Regions from separate parts of the Homo sapiens genome. Here regions 1, 3 and 4 are each linked to region 2. Evidence: promoter capture Hi-C in 16 types of primary human blood cells and fetal thymus (Javierre and others, 2016). All regions are on one chromosome and are shown on one strand. Each heading gives the region's core, a stretch centred on a gene start or on the middle of the fragment in contact. The rest is flanking DNA. Distances are from core to core; before and after follow the strand shown.

Region 1 (2,918 bases), core at 123-2,622, 130 kb after region 2:
ATGCAGAGGAGTTTCAGGCCTAATTAATAAGAAGAGCTGCACTTTCTATGCCAGGCTCTGAGTGCTTGGTGCAGATGGTCACACCCCTATTGGTGTTGGAATTATCACCATTTCGATTTTGCAGATGAAGGAACTGAGGCTTGGGGAAGTTAAGGGAGGATGGGGGCAAGGGTGGATTCCTGGGATTCTACCCGACGTGGGAGGCTTCCTGAGCCACGGCTGGCCTGGGAGCTGAGTTTCTTGCAGACCCGTGCCCGGTCATTCAAACGGTTCCCATCAGCATTTCCAGCACGCTCCGAGGCTGAGAGTTGCGCGCTCGTGCAGGAAGGCAATCTGGATCTGATGGTTGCAGGGGGCTGCAGAGCTCGGCCTCGGAAGCGGGCGTTAGGGGATCAGGGCTCCGCGGGCGTCCAGCTTGGAGGTGAGCGGGGGTCCTGGCGGGGCGAGGAGCGGGTCCCGGCACCGGATGACCTTGCACCAGGCGGCCTCGCCCACGAGGTGGCGCCGCAGGCTCTGCCAAGGCTCCGACCGCGCAAGGGGAGGCGCAGCCCAAGACTTCGAGGTTTCGCGGAGTCCCAAAGGCAGCTCCTCAAGACAGCCTCGGGCAACTGAGCCTCTAGACCCTCCGCAAGCCGCAATTGCCTTTTTTGGAAGCTTGTCGTAAATTCATCAGGCTTGGGCGCTGCAGAGCTAAACAGGCAACTGACATTAACTACTCTTCTATTTTCTTTTTTTCTTAATTTTTTCCATTACATCAAAATGAGTCCCCATTTATGCACTACGTACGACTTGACACAATATCTTCAAAGAGGAATATGGCAACACAGCAGGTAGTTTTACAGATGGGGAAACTGAGAGATTATGAGTGGAGTGGAACCAACATGGAACCCAAGGCTGTTTGGCTCCCAAACTGCCCTTTTTCTAAATCCTCAGGTTATTGAATAACCTCTCCCTACTCCTCCCGCAGATTCTTCCACCAGCTATTGGCAGGGGAAGGAAATAGGGGAAGTAGAGGGAGAGATTTTCTGAGAAGTGAAAAGTGATTTCTGGGTATGGCACAACAATTGCGTTCATGGCTGGGCATGGCTTTGGGATACATTGAGGAGGGAGATCATTCTGGGATCAGGAATGGCAAGCCCTCCCTTGCCCACGGGGCCAGATGGTCGTATAAATGAGTGAAGCAGCGAGGACAAGGCTTGTGCAGGAGAAACACACCCGTCTAAGGAAGGAAGCTGCTTCTGGGCTCTAGCACATGGATACCGCTGGCCATGTGGCCTAAGGTGGCCACATCCACTGATCTCTTAAGATAACTGTATGGTAGATTGCAAAAATGGCCACAAATTCTTTCCCTCCCATCCAGGGTGGAGTCTCTTTCTCCACCCCTTGAGTCTGGGCTGGCCTAACACTTGCTCTGGCTAATAGAATACAGCAGAAATGATGGCATGTGCGTTTGAGCCCAGCCCTCAAAATGTCTTGCACCCTTTGGCTTTTGTCTTTAGAAACTAGTCCACTGTAAGATGAGACCACGTACAGCATCTCAGCCGAGGACACCCTTGGCCAGCCTGCCTCATCTGATCTGGCAGCTGACTACAAACCCATGGACAAGCCCAGCTGAGATCAGCCAGGCTGGCCCTGGCCAGCAGAACCATCTGGCTGAGCCCAGCCCAAATTGCTGAATGACAAAAACAAGAGAGAGTAAATGGTTGGTTGTTACACAGAAAATGCTAACTGATCCAAGCTGAATATCTGGGTTTTAAGAATGTAAAATCTCCTGATTTTTAAATGTTGGCAGTGAGTTTAAAAAGAAAATCCACAGGTCAAACCAAATATTTCTGAATGCTGCATGGGGCCCTGGCAATCACCAGTTTGCAAACAATGCTATAAAGCGGGGGTGTCCAATCTTTTGGCTTCTCTGGGCCACGCTGGAAGAATTGTCATGGGCCATACATTAAATACACTAACACTAACAACAGCTGATGAGTTAAAAATAATCACAAGAAAACTCATAATGTTTTAAGAAAGTTTATGAATTTGTGTTGGGCTGCATTCAAAGCCCATGCAGCCCTCAGGCTGTGGGTTGGACAAGCTTGCTATAAAGTCTATAGAATGGAATGAATCTCGTTTGGCTGCTTGCAGCAATCTTGGCATATGTAAGTCTTAGTAAATGAATAAATACTAATAGAATGTGAGTGTATGGAATGATTTCTTACACCTTATACAAAAATTAATTCAAGATGCCAAAGTGCATCAGTGTATTTATGCTTTCCTCTTGAGATATGTACCAGTGGGTGAGTTCCTTTGTTCAAGATGATCTCTGGTCCTGTTTAAAAATAGAATCTTCTCCAGGTGTGGTAGCTCATGCCTGTAATCCTAGCAATTTGGGAGGCTGAGGCAGGTGGATCACTTGAGGTCAGAAGTTCGAGACCAGCCTGGGCAACATGGTGAAACCCCGTCTCTACTAAAAATACAAAAATTAGTCAGGCATGGTGGCAGGCACCTGTAATCCCAGCTACTCAGGAGGCTGAGGCAGGAGCATTGCTTGAACTGGAGAGGCAGAGGTTGCAGTGAACCAAGATCTCCCATTCTGTGGGTTACCTGTTCACCTGATAGTAGTTTCTTTTGCTGTGCAGAAGCTCTTTAGTTTAATTAGATCCCATTTGTCTATTTTGGCTTTTGTTGCCATTGCTTTTAGTGTTTTAGTCATGAAGTCCTTGCCCATGCCTATGTCCTGAATGGTATTGCCTAGGTTTTCTTCTAGGGTTTTTACGGTTTTAGGTCTAACAGTTAAGTCTTTAATCCATCTTGAATTAATTTTTGTATAAGGTGTAAGGAAGGGATCCAGTTTCAGCTTTCTGCATATGGCTAGCCAGTTTTCCCAGCACCATTTATTAAATAGGGAATCTTTTCCCCATTTCTTG
Region 2 (3,051 bases), core at 254-2,753:
TCATTCCCATATTCACACATACTTATTAGGTGTCTATTATGTGGCTGACACATGGTAGGGGTTACAGAGGTAAGACACACAAGGTTCCTGTCTACGTGGGAAAGAGACAATAAACAACACAGTGGTAGGCACTGTTAAGAAGAGAAGAGAGAATATTGGAAGTGAGGCACATTTCAGTTACAGTGGACAGATGACATTTGAGTAAAAAACTGAATGAAGTAAAGAAACTCATCATGTGACAATCTCAGTGAAGAGTATTTCAGATTGATGAACTCACACTCCAGGTTGAAGAACAAGAGGCCTGTTTAGCTAGAACAGTATGAAAGAGGTGGAGAGGGGCAGAAGATGAGGTCAGAAACATAGGCAAGGTCTGCTCAAGGGTCTGACGAGATTTTATTCTTAATGTGATGGGAAGCCACTGGAATGCTTCAAATACAATAGTGACTTAAGGGGTTTACCTTTTAAACAAGCTCTCCAGCTCCTGAATCAGAATACATGAAGTCTCCACGTGTGCTTTACAAATATTTTTGTAAAGAAGTCTCTACTAGGTGCTTTACAAATATTTTATCATTAAAAAGTAATTACTTGTGCTAACTTTGAAATCCCAAATAAGTGGATGGGAATCCTGGCTTCACTACCTACCAGCTGTGTGATCTTAGTCACCTTAATATCCCTGGACTCAATGTCCCCGTCAGTAGCAAAGAAATTATTATAATTTCCTCGATTACTTGTGAGATCAGGGATTATTCACTCATTTGTTTATTCGAAATATTTAGTGTGCCAGGAACCATGCTAGTTGCAGAGAAAAAAAGGGTACAGCCTCTGCTATCAGGAACTTACCGTCTAGCGGGGAAGACTTGATACAAATCAACCACGTACAGCCGTGTGCAGGCTAAGACAGTTTATAAAAGGATGTGGTAAGGGAACAGTTTGGGAAGGCTTCTCTGAGCAAATGAAGTTAGTGTATACAAAACTCAGTATACACTAGGTATTTGTATTATTGCTACTAGTCGCAGGTAGGGTTCAAATCCTGGCTCTGCCATTTACTAGCTTTGCAAATTTCTCCTTTTGAGCCTCAACTTCCATGTCTGAAAATGAGGACAACAGTATGTAGCTATAGGGCTATTGTGATAATTACATGAGATACCCCCTGTTAAGATTACTGTCCAGTGAATGGCAATAGTCAGCACCCATTGAATGTCCACTCTTAATACTGTTGTTAATTTTGAGTCCTCTGAATGGAATAAAAGACCGCAGCCAGGTCTGGAACTCCGCTGGCTCCCCCTTCTTACTTCCTCTCGTTTTCTGGGGTCGTCAAATTCCCACCACCCCCGGTCGCCAAGAGCCGGCCCACATCACTGACCTTCTCAACCTTCTTCGGCCCCTTCACCAGTTCATGCCTCTTGGGGATTGTTCCCCCGTCGCAACCCATCGCAGGACGGGAGTCAGAGCCAGCAGCAAACCCCCAAAGCTGTCACTTCCGGGATTTCCGGCGAAATCCGCAGCCACTTCCGGCGCACCGCCGTGACGCAGCACGCTGGTCGTGGCGTAGCGGGGCGGGGCGGGGCGGCACGCTAGGCGCGGCGTAGCGGGGCAGGGCGAGGCCGTTACCAAGTGCCGGTTGTCATGGAGAGCGTCGCTTGGAGGCTGGGCGTGGGCGGGTTTCCTCGTTCCCGTGAGACCCTGGGTTTCTGCTGCACAATCGGAATCACTCGCCCACGCTCCGGGAGGGCAGCGAGGGCGTGGGCGGCCCGTGCGCATCCACCGCTCTTTGACCCTATCCCACGCCAGCTTGTGTGGCTGCGGAGCGGGCACATCCCTGGACTGAGAGCGCCTTGAGGAAAAGGGCCGCCCTCCTGTTTCTGCGATTAAGGATGCCTATGAACGGAATCTGCTGTATCAATGGACATTTTTGTGTTTAAAAGGAGAACGCATCTTTCTTGAGCGCCAACTGTGACTCAAGCACTCACAACAAATCTTGTGAAGTGATGTTACAACAGATTCTAGGAAGTAAGACCCTCCCTTAAGGCCTGGAACTTTCTGGTGTTGCCATGCATATTGTAGATGGCATGTGTGTGAAATTTTGCATACAGTTTGTGCGTGTGTGTATTTCATTCACAGTTTCCTGAAGCCCAGGCTAAAAAAATTTTATTAACAATCAAGTATCATTAATAGACGATATAATAGTTCTTATAAAATATACACTGATGTTGCCATGCCCGTTCCAAGAGTCAGGCTGTATTTTATCTATAAGAACACAAATCCCTTGCTAAAAATTCATGATTGTCTGTCTGCTCTTAGGCGATTGTCTATCTCTCTGTTTGTTCCTTTAATTATTATAAATATTATGGGAAAGTGCCTATAATCCCAGCACTTTGGGAGGCCGAGACGGGAGGAGCACCTGAGCCCAGGAGTTCCAGGTCAGCCTGGACAACATGGTGAGACACCATCTTGAAAGAAAAAGAAAAATTAGCCAGGCGTTGTGGTAAGCTTTTGTAGTCCTAGCGGCTCCGGAGGCTGAGGGGGTAGGAAGGATTGCCTGAGCCCAGGAATTCAAGGTTGCAGTGAGCTTATGATTATGCCACTGCACTCCAGCCTAGGCAACAGAGCAAGACTCTGTCATTAATATGTATGTATGTATGTATGTATGTATTTGTACATATATATGATGGGAAAATTTCTCCATTGCCAAGAAGGCAGATCTTTATGATTGGATATTACCCTATTGACCTACGTGAAACATAAAAACGCTGAAAATATTTTTTACTTGGGAAGAGTTGCCCAGAAAATACGTGGATGTGGAAACTTCAAGGGCTATATGTAAGCTTGGGGTACTTGTTACTGTGATTAATGAGAATTTTAAAAAATAATCCCTTTAATTAGTTGGTCTCTGATTGATTTATGATTTATTTCTATGCTAACCACAATAACTGTAAGCTCTATGAGGGTAGGGACTTCATTTTGTTTTGTTTTGTTTTAGACAGAGTCTCGATCTGTTGCCCAGACTGGAGTGCAGTGATGTGATCTCGGCTCACTGCAACCTCAACCTCC
Region 3 (3,170 bases), core at 599-3,098, 84 kb after region 2:
TTTGGCATAAAGTTTTTGTATCATAGCTTTTTGCCAAATAGCAATGTAGTGTCTATTTCCAAATTATTGAGAAATTTTAGAAAGTGTCTCCTTCATTAATGGATATTTGTTAATAAAGCATGATTTTTAGGGGTGAGGAATTGGAGGGGATAGAAGGTATCATTCAGGTATTCTTAGCCACATACTAACTATCCTCTGGAGGTACTGATTAAAATACCTTTTCACCTTCCATCTCTTATCAGTGACATTCATTATTTTGCTATACTAGAGAACAAACTTTGTGAAATTCTCAATATATTCATCTTTTGCTTTCATGAATGCCAGAAAGTTTATTTTCTCTTCCATTCTAGGCTACAGCTCCAGTTGGAGGTCCAAAACGTGTTCTCGTGACTCAGCAATTTCCTTGTCAGAATCCATTACCTGTAAATAGTGGCCAGGCTCAGCGGGTCTTGTGTCCTTCAAATTCTTCCCAGCGCATTCCTTTGCAAGCACAAAAGCTTGTCTCCAGTCACAAGCCGGTTCAGAATCAGAAGCAGAAGCAATTGCAGGCAACCAGTGTACCTCATCCTGTCTCCAGGCCACTGAATAACACCCAAAAGAGCAAGCAGCCCCTGCCATCGGCACCTGGTAAACTAGCTTTTGAGACTCATTGGATAGTCCTTCTTTGTCGTCGTTGCTAAAAAAGCCAGTGTATATACTTGCACTTATTGTTTGGAGCCTTAGCTTTTATATCTGTTGAGGATGGGGAGAAAATATGGTGTCTGGGTTGAAGTAACAGTGTCTGCCCATGGGCCAGACCTATGCTAAAAATACAGACCTGATTCTCACCCTCTTGGAAGAGTTGGGCACCCAGGGAGGACACAGCATAAATTGGTGTCCTTTTGATTGCTTGTTACTGAGTCTGGATGTAGGGTGCTTGCAGTAAGTGACTTGAAGGGACTGAGATCTAAAGTGTGGGGGAAATCCAGAGAAGTGGGTGAACTGAGGCAGGCTGCGGTGAGGTCACCATGGGCATTGCTGGCCATGTTAAGGAATGGGGCCTCATCTCTAGGGCATTTGGAAGCTACTGAAGCTTTTTTGAACTCAGAAGGGAACTCTGCCTTTTAGAAAGTTTACTGTGGAAGGCCAGGCGCAGTGGCTCACGCCTGTAATCCCAGCGCTTTGGGAGACCGAGGCAGGTGGATCACCTGAGGTCAGGAGTTGGAGACCAGTCTGACCAACATGGAGAAACCCTGTCTCTACTAAAAATACAAAATTAGCCAGGCGTGGTGGTGCACGCCTGTAATCCCAGCTACTCAGGAGGCTGAGGCAGGAGAATGGCTTGAACCCAGGAGGTGGAGGTTGTGGTGAGCCGAGATTGTGCCATTGCATTCTAGCCTGGGCAACAAGAGCAAAATTCTATCTCAAAAAAAAAAAAAAAATTTACTGTGGAAGTACTGAATAAATTGGAGTAGAACGCTGGATTTAGGAGTACCAGACAGGAAGGAGGTTGAGGTCAGAGATGGCAATAACCTGCTCTGTGTGGAGCAGAGTGGATGCAATTATTTACCAACTGTTGAGTGCTCATTCCCTGCAGGCTCTGAGATAAGTGCGTGCTTCATCCACGTCATCTCTTTCAATCTTCGTAACCACTTCATGAAGGTAGCCAGTTATTAACTCAGTTTTACAGAGGAGGAAGCTAAGACTCAGAAGCAGTTAACTTATCCAAAGACAAGCCAGGATGGAGAGGTGCACACAAATTTGAGAGCTCATTTACGATGCAGACTCATTAGAACTGGGCAATAAATTGTACCTGAAAGATGAATAAAGAGGAGTTAGGGATGGTGATTAGATTGATATTAATTGAGTGAGTGTCCTGGGGGTTGAGGGGTGCACATGTGACAGGGGCATCTGGAGGAAGAGTTTGGACCAGCATCCAGATATCTGAGCAGAGCATTGTGTGCTGTTCGAGTTTGCTATGTTGGAGACAGACCAGTGGAAATGTTTCATATGTCCTTGTGGCTGATGAAATAGTTACCCCAGTCCTCTGCTGCACAACTGTTCATTGTGCATTTTGCTGAATTGGTGGCTTTTATTTTTATATTTCCCCTTGGCAGCTAATATAAATGGAGGGTGGCTGGCTTATGTTTTGCTACATGTTGGTGATAATTCGTATGTAGGGTATGGACTGTTGGCTGGCCCACCTAGTAAGGGGAAAAAGGTGACGAGTTGGCAGCTCGTCATGCATGGGAAGATTGGTACTTCTGCCACAAAAGCTCTTCTTTGGAAACTGAGGCTTCAGAAGAGCCTGCATAGTCTGCCTTTAATTTATCAGAGAAGGGCCTGTCTATATATACGTCTGCTCATCTTTAGAAATTCTATAAAGGCTTCACATGATGGAAGTCAGGGTGTAGTAGTCCTTTTTTTCTATAAGGAAAACTTTAAAAAAAAAAAACAGATTTATCATTCTTGACATACCATTAATATTTTGGTGACCAATTCTTTGATTCACCTCTATTCACAGCTTAGCTTATCCTATATAGTTATTCTAAAAACAGGTTTTTAACTTATTCCATATAGAAAATAATCCTGAGGAGGAACTGGCATCAAAACAGAAAAATGAAGAATCAAAAAAGTAAGCTTTCTTATTTACAAAGTTCTGTACTGTTCTACTAGAATATATTATTTCGTTGCAAATTTCGTTGTGGGAACTCTGGGGAAAAAAATGAGGCCTTTATTTGCATTTAGAGGATATAAATGTTTCCAGATTTCCAATCTTAAAAAAAATGGAATTTTGTGTAATGAGGTATTTTACTAGGAACTCAAGTGCTTTAAAAAATGGCTTTCAAATTTAGAAAAAGCTTGTATGAATCTTTTATAGAAATGTGTGGAAGTTCCTCTCTGTCCTTAGAAATAACCACTACATATGGTTTATGCGTCTGTACTTTTTTATTGTACAAAAGTGCAAGTTTTTAAAAAATAGAATATGTTGCAGAACTATATACTCATATATGACTGAGGGTTTTGACAGTATTATAGTTTTAGTTCTTTATTGTAAAGGTTGGCTGTAATGTCTTCCCCAGGGCTTTTCTAAAAGCCTCCTCTCAGTCTCTGAACTATCTGGACTCTAGAATGTACCGGGAGGAGCGAGGAATGAACCCACAGACTCTTTTGCTTTTAGCGGTCTAACA
Region 4 (3,181 bases), core at 259-2,758, 100 kb after region 2:
ATTGTGCTACTTATACTGGTTCATAATCTGGAGGCAAGGTTCGACTGCAGCCGCCCCGTCAGCCTGTGCTAGGCATGGTGTCTTCACAGGAGGCAAATCCAGAGCCTGGCTGTGGGGAAAGTGACCACTCTGCCCTGACCCCGATCAGTTAAGGAGCTGTGCAATAACCTTCCTAGTACCTGAGTGAGTGTGTAACTTATTGGGTTGGCGAAGCCTGGTAAAGCTGTTGGAATGAGTATGTGATTCTTTTTAAGTATGAAAATAAAGATATATGTACAGACTTGTATTTTTTCTCTGGTGGCATTCCTTTAGGAATGCTGTGTGTCTGTCCGGCACCCCGGTAGGCCTGATTGGGTTTCTAGTCCTCCTTAACCACTTATCTCCCATATGAGAGTGTGAAAAATAGGAACACGTGCTCTACCTCCATTTAGGGATTTGCTTGGGATACAGAAGAGGCCATGTGTCTCAGAGCTGTTAAGGGCTTATTTTTTTAAAACATTGGAGTCATAGCATGTGTGTAAACTTTAAATATGCAAATAAATAAGTATCTATGTCTGTGTGGAGTGCTGTGTAATTCTTTCCACCATCTGTTCATTGTTGGCCTGGAAATGAGCAGGGGCTGAGAGGAGCAGGTCTCGCCCTCATCTAGTCCTGCCTCTTCTGGTCTCTCCTGTTGGGTGTACTCCTAATACTTCATTATATATATTGTTTATATATTTGTCATATCTTTGTCATCTGTCCATCGACTAAAGATACGGTGAAAGTGACTGTGATGAAGGAAAAGTAGAAGTGTTGAACTTAGAGCTAGTAGAGAAATCTGCTTGCATGGCCAATGCTCAGTGCAAGAAACTGGACAGCAGGTATGTCAGGATATGTCATAACAAAGTGGCCAATATAGAGAAACTTAAAAACATGACTCAGTAAAACTGCAGCTGCCAGCCCCCTTGGGACAAAGGGGCTTCTGGTTCTCATAGTCTTGAGCTGAACTGACTTTGACCTTCCCAAATAGTTCATGTGCCACCCTCCCAAGCTATAGTTATTATCACGTGACTGACTTTCCCAGTGACACCAGTGAGACTTGGGACGTTTCCCCAGACAATCCCACACAAGCAAAGAAAAAGCTCATTGTAGTAGCACATTAATACACTGGTCACAGTGCCACTTCATCATCAGCAACAACCATGGCTTACCAGAAGGAATATAAAAAAGTTCATAAACTATAAAGATGTTTCACAGAATTTAAGCTGCTCACTTTGTCAGATAAATTAGAGAAACAATGGCTTTCATTTTTAAAATAGATGTTTTATTCTGCTAGTTCCATAAAAACAATGTAAACACAGGCGTTCTGTACATCTTGCTGGTGAATTCACATAATGCTTAGTTCCCTGATCCTTTGACCTCCTTGTCTTCTCCGGTTATTTTCTGTTTGGACCCCTGGCCACAGGAGTGGAGTGGGGTTGGGGCTTAGGAGAGAGCAATGTGGCTTTTTGGTATGATTTGTTTTATTGCTTGCCCGCTCAGCACGCTCCTGTTACTCCTAACAAAGTTTGAGATTTAAGCCCTTAAACCTGTAGGTTTCACCATCAGTTTTTCTTTTTTTTCTTTTTTTTTTTTTGCATAGGCATTACTAGGGACATAAATGGGAGACTGGCATAGAAAGTGGTGAGGAGCCGAAGCCAAGGAATTGCTTTAAACACAAGATGAAAATACTCTGTTCTGTCCAAAGCATCACCTAATGGTGTGAGGCATCTCACTTAGCTGTGGAGAAGTCCTTGGAATTAGATCTCAGAAAGACAGCTTTAAGACAGTAAAACCTTTTGGCAATGGGCTAATTGCCTTAAAAGAAGAGTTCTACCTGAAAGACCTTGCAGGTGGAGAAATTGTCCTACAAAGATTCTTGGATATGTTAGTGGAGATAACTGACATGGGTAGCTGTGGGTCAACCAGGAACTGTCAACAACCTGATCTCTGCAAAACCAGGATGGCCAGTTAATGGTTTATTCAGTTCTCTGATGGTCACAAATGTAATTTTATTTAGCCTTGTGGAGGTTCTGCAACAAATGTAATTTTAAAGGAATTAGGAGCCAGAAAGATAAATGCAACTCCTTCAACTACGTGACAGGGCAGACTGGTGAATCTGGGTTCCCAGAGTGTGGAGCAAGTGCCCTGCATCAGAGAATGGCCCAGGGGGAACGTGCATGATGCTGAACCCCGCAGGACAGAATTACTTCAATCGCCTGCTCCTGACTACTATAAGGACGAAGCCTCAGTGTCTCAGTTTGGATCTACGCTGGGATTTCTTTCTTTTGGAGACAGTGTCTCCCTCTGTCGCCCAGGCTGGAGTGCAGTGGTGTGATCTTGGCTCACTGCAACCTCCACCTCCTGGGTTCAAGCAATGCTGCCTCAGCCTCCCCAGTAGCTGGGACTACAGGCGTGTGCCACCACACCCGGCTAATTTTTGTATTTGTAGTAGAGACGGGGTTTCATCATGTTGGCCAGGCTGGTCTCGAACTCCTGGCCTCAAGTGACACGCCTGCCTCAACCTCCCAAAGTGCTGGGATTACAGGCGTGAGCCACCGCACCTGGCCTCTATGCTCGAATTTCTACTCTTAGCTAATCTCTCTAACACATATGCCCTTCATTGGGTAAAGCTGGCTCAGCAGACTAATTACACCTGTCATGTAATACAAGCCTCTCCCTGGCTTGTATTATCTCATGGTTGCCTTCTATTTGTGACAAGTGCTATGAATATTCCTTTTTAAGAAGTGATACAAAATCTTTTTTTTTCTTGAACAGGATTTTTAACTCAGACAGTGTAAACATCATGACAATTCTGGAATGTCTGAAGTTTGAGATAGAAGATTGTCTAAGAAAAGCTGAGATTGTCTTAGCTGTTTGTGGTATCCGAATTCCTCTGGAACATGGGCATCAGGAACCAAGCGATGCCACTGCTACTGGGCAGGGTTTTTATATTTTACCTAAACAGAGACAAATGACGCTGACCTACCTTAATGAAATTTCAGAAAAACCATCTGGAATCAGCCCCATCATGTCCAGATTGGAAGGTATCTGGGGATCAATGAAACATACCAGAACTACTTTTCTTCCCCCAAACCAATGTAATGAATGTCAAAGTATTGATGCTAATTTAGATTGTGATTACATATTAAGTTTTGCTTCA

The links. The method cuts DNA at HindIII sites, captures the fragments that hold promoters and counts their contacts. A CHiCAGO score of 5 or more calls a contact.
Region 1: a contact is called between a fragment that was not itself captured here and the fragment with the promoter of RTF2 in region 2, in 1 of 17 cell types (activated CD4 T cells). The highest score is 5.2, in activated CD4 T cells.
Region 3: a contact is called between a fragment that was not itself captured here and the fragment with the promoter of RTF2 in region 2, in 16 of 17 cell types (neutrophils, monocytes, total CD8 T cells and 13 more). The highest score is 15.5, in neutrophils.
Region 4: a fragment that was not itself captured here is called in contact with the fragment with the promoter of RTF2 in region 2 in 8 of 17 cell types (neutrophils, monocytes, naive CD8 T cells and 5 more); the score reaches 11.4 in neutrophils.

What each region holds. Positions count from the first base shown.
Region 1 is chr20:56,341,633-56,344,550 of GRCh38, reverse strand. No RefSeq gene overlaps it. Among named protein-coding and RNA genes, the nearest start is that of FAM210B, 16 kb to the left of the region's middle. RefSeq lists a silencer at 304-598. The HindIII fragment of the contact is 1,432 bases long and covers 657-2,088 here.
Region 2 is chr20:56,467,079-56,470,129 of GRCh38, reverse strand. RTF2 (replication termination factor 2) reads right to left here and starts at 1,503. Exons shown (of 9, transcript NM_016407.5): 1 at 1,364-1,503. The coding sequence starts at 1,432. The HindIII fragment of the contact is 9,363 bases long and covers 1-2,492 here.
Region 3 is chr20:56,383,714-56,386,883 of GRCh38, reverse strand. It overlaps AURKA (aurora kinase A), which reads left to right. Exons shown (of 9, transcript NM_198437.3): 3 at 351-627; 4 at 2,560-2,614. Among named protein-coding and RNA genes, the nearest start is that of AURKA, 6.9 kb to the left of the region's middle. RefSeq lists an enhancer at 1-798. The HindIII fragment of the contact is 1,547 bases long and covers 1,075-2,621 here.
Region 4 is chr20:56,366,764-56,369,944 of GRCh38, reverse strand. It overlaps FAM210B (family with sequence similarity 210 member B), which reads right to left. Exons shown (of 3, transcript NM_080821.3): 3 at 1,282-3,181. AURKA (aurora kinase A) reads left to right here. Exons shown (of 9, transcript NM_198437.3): 9 at 1-555. Among named protein-coding and RNA genes, the nearest start is that of FAM210B, 9.4 kb to the right of the region's middle. The HindIII fragment of the contact is 8,673 bases long and covers 1-3,181 here.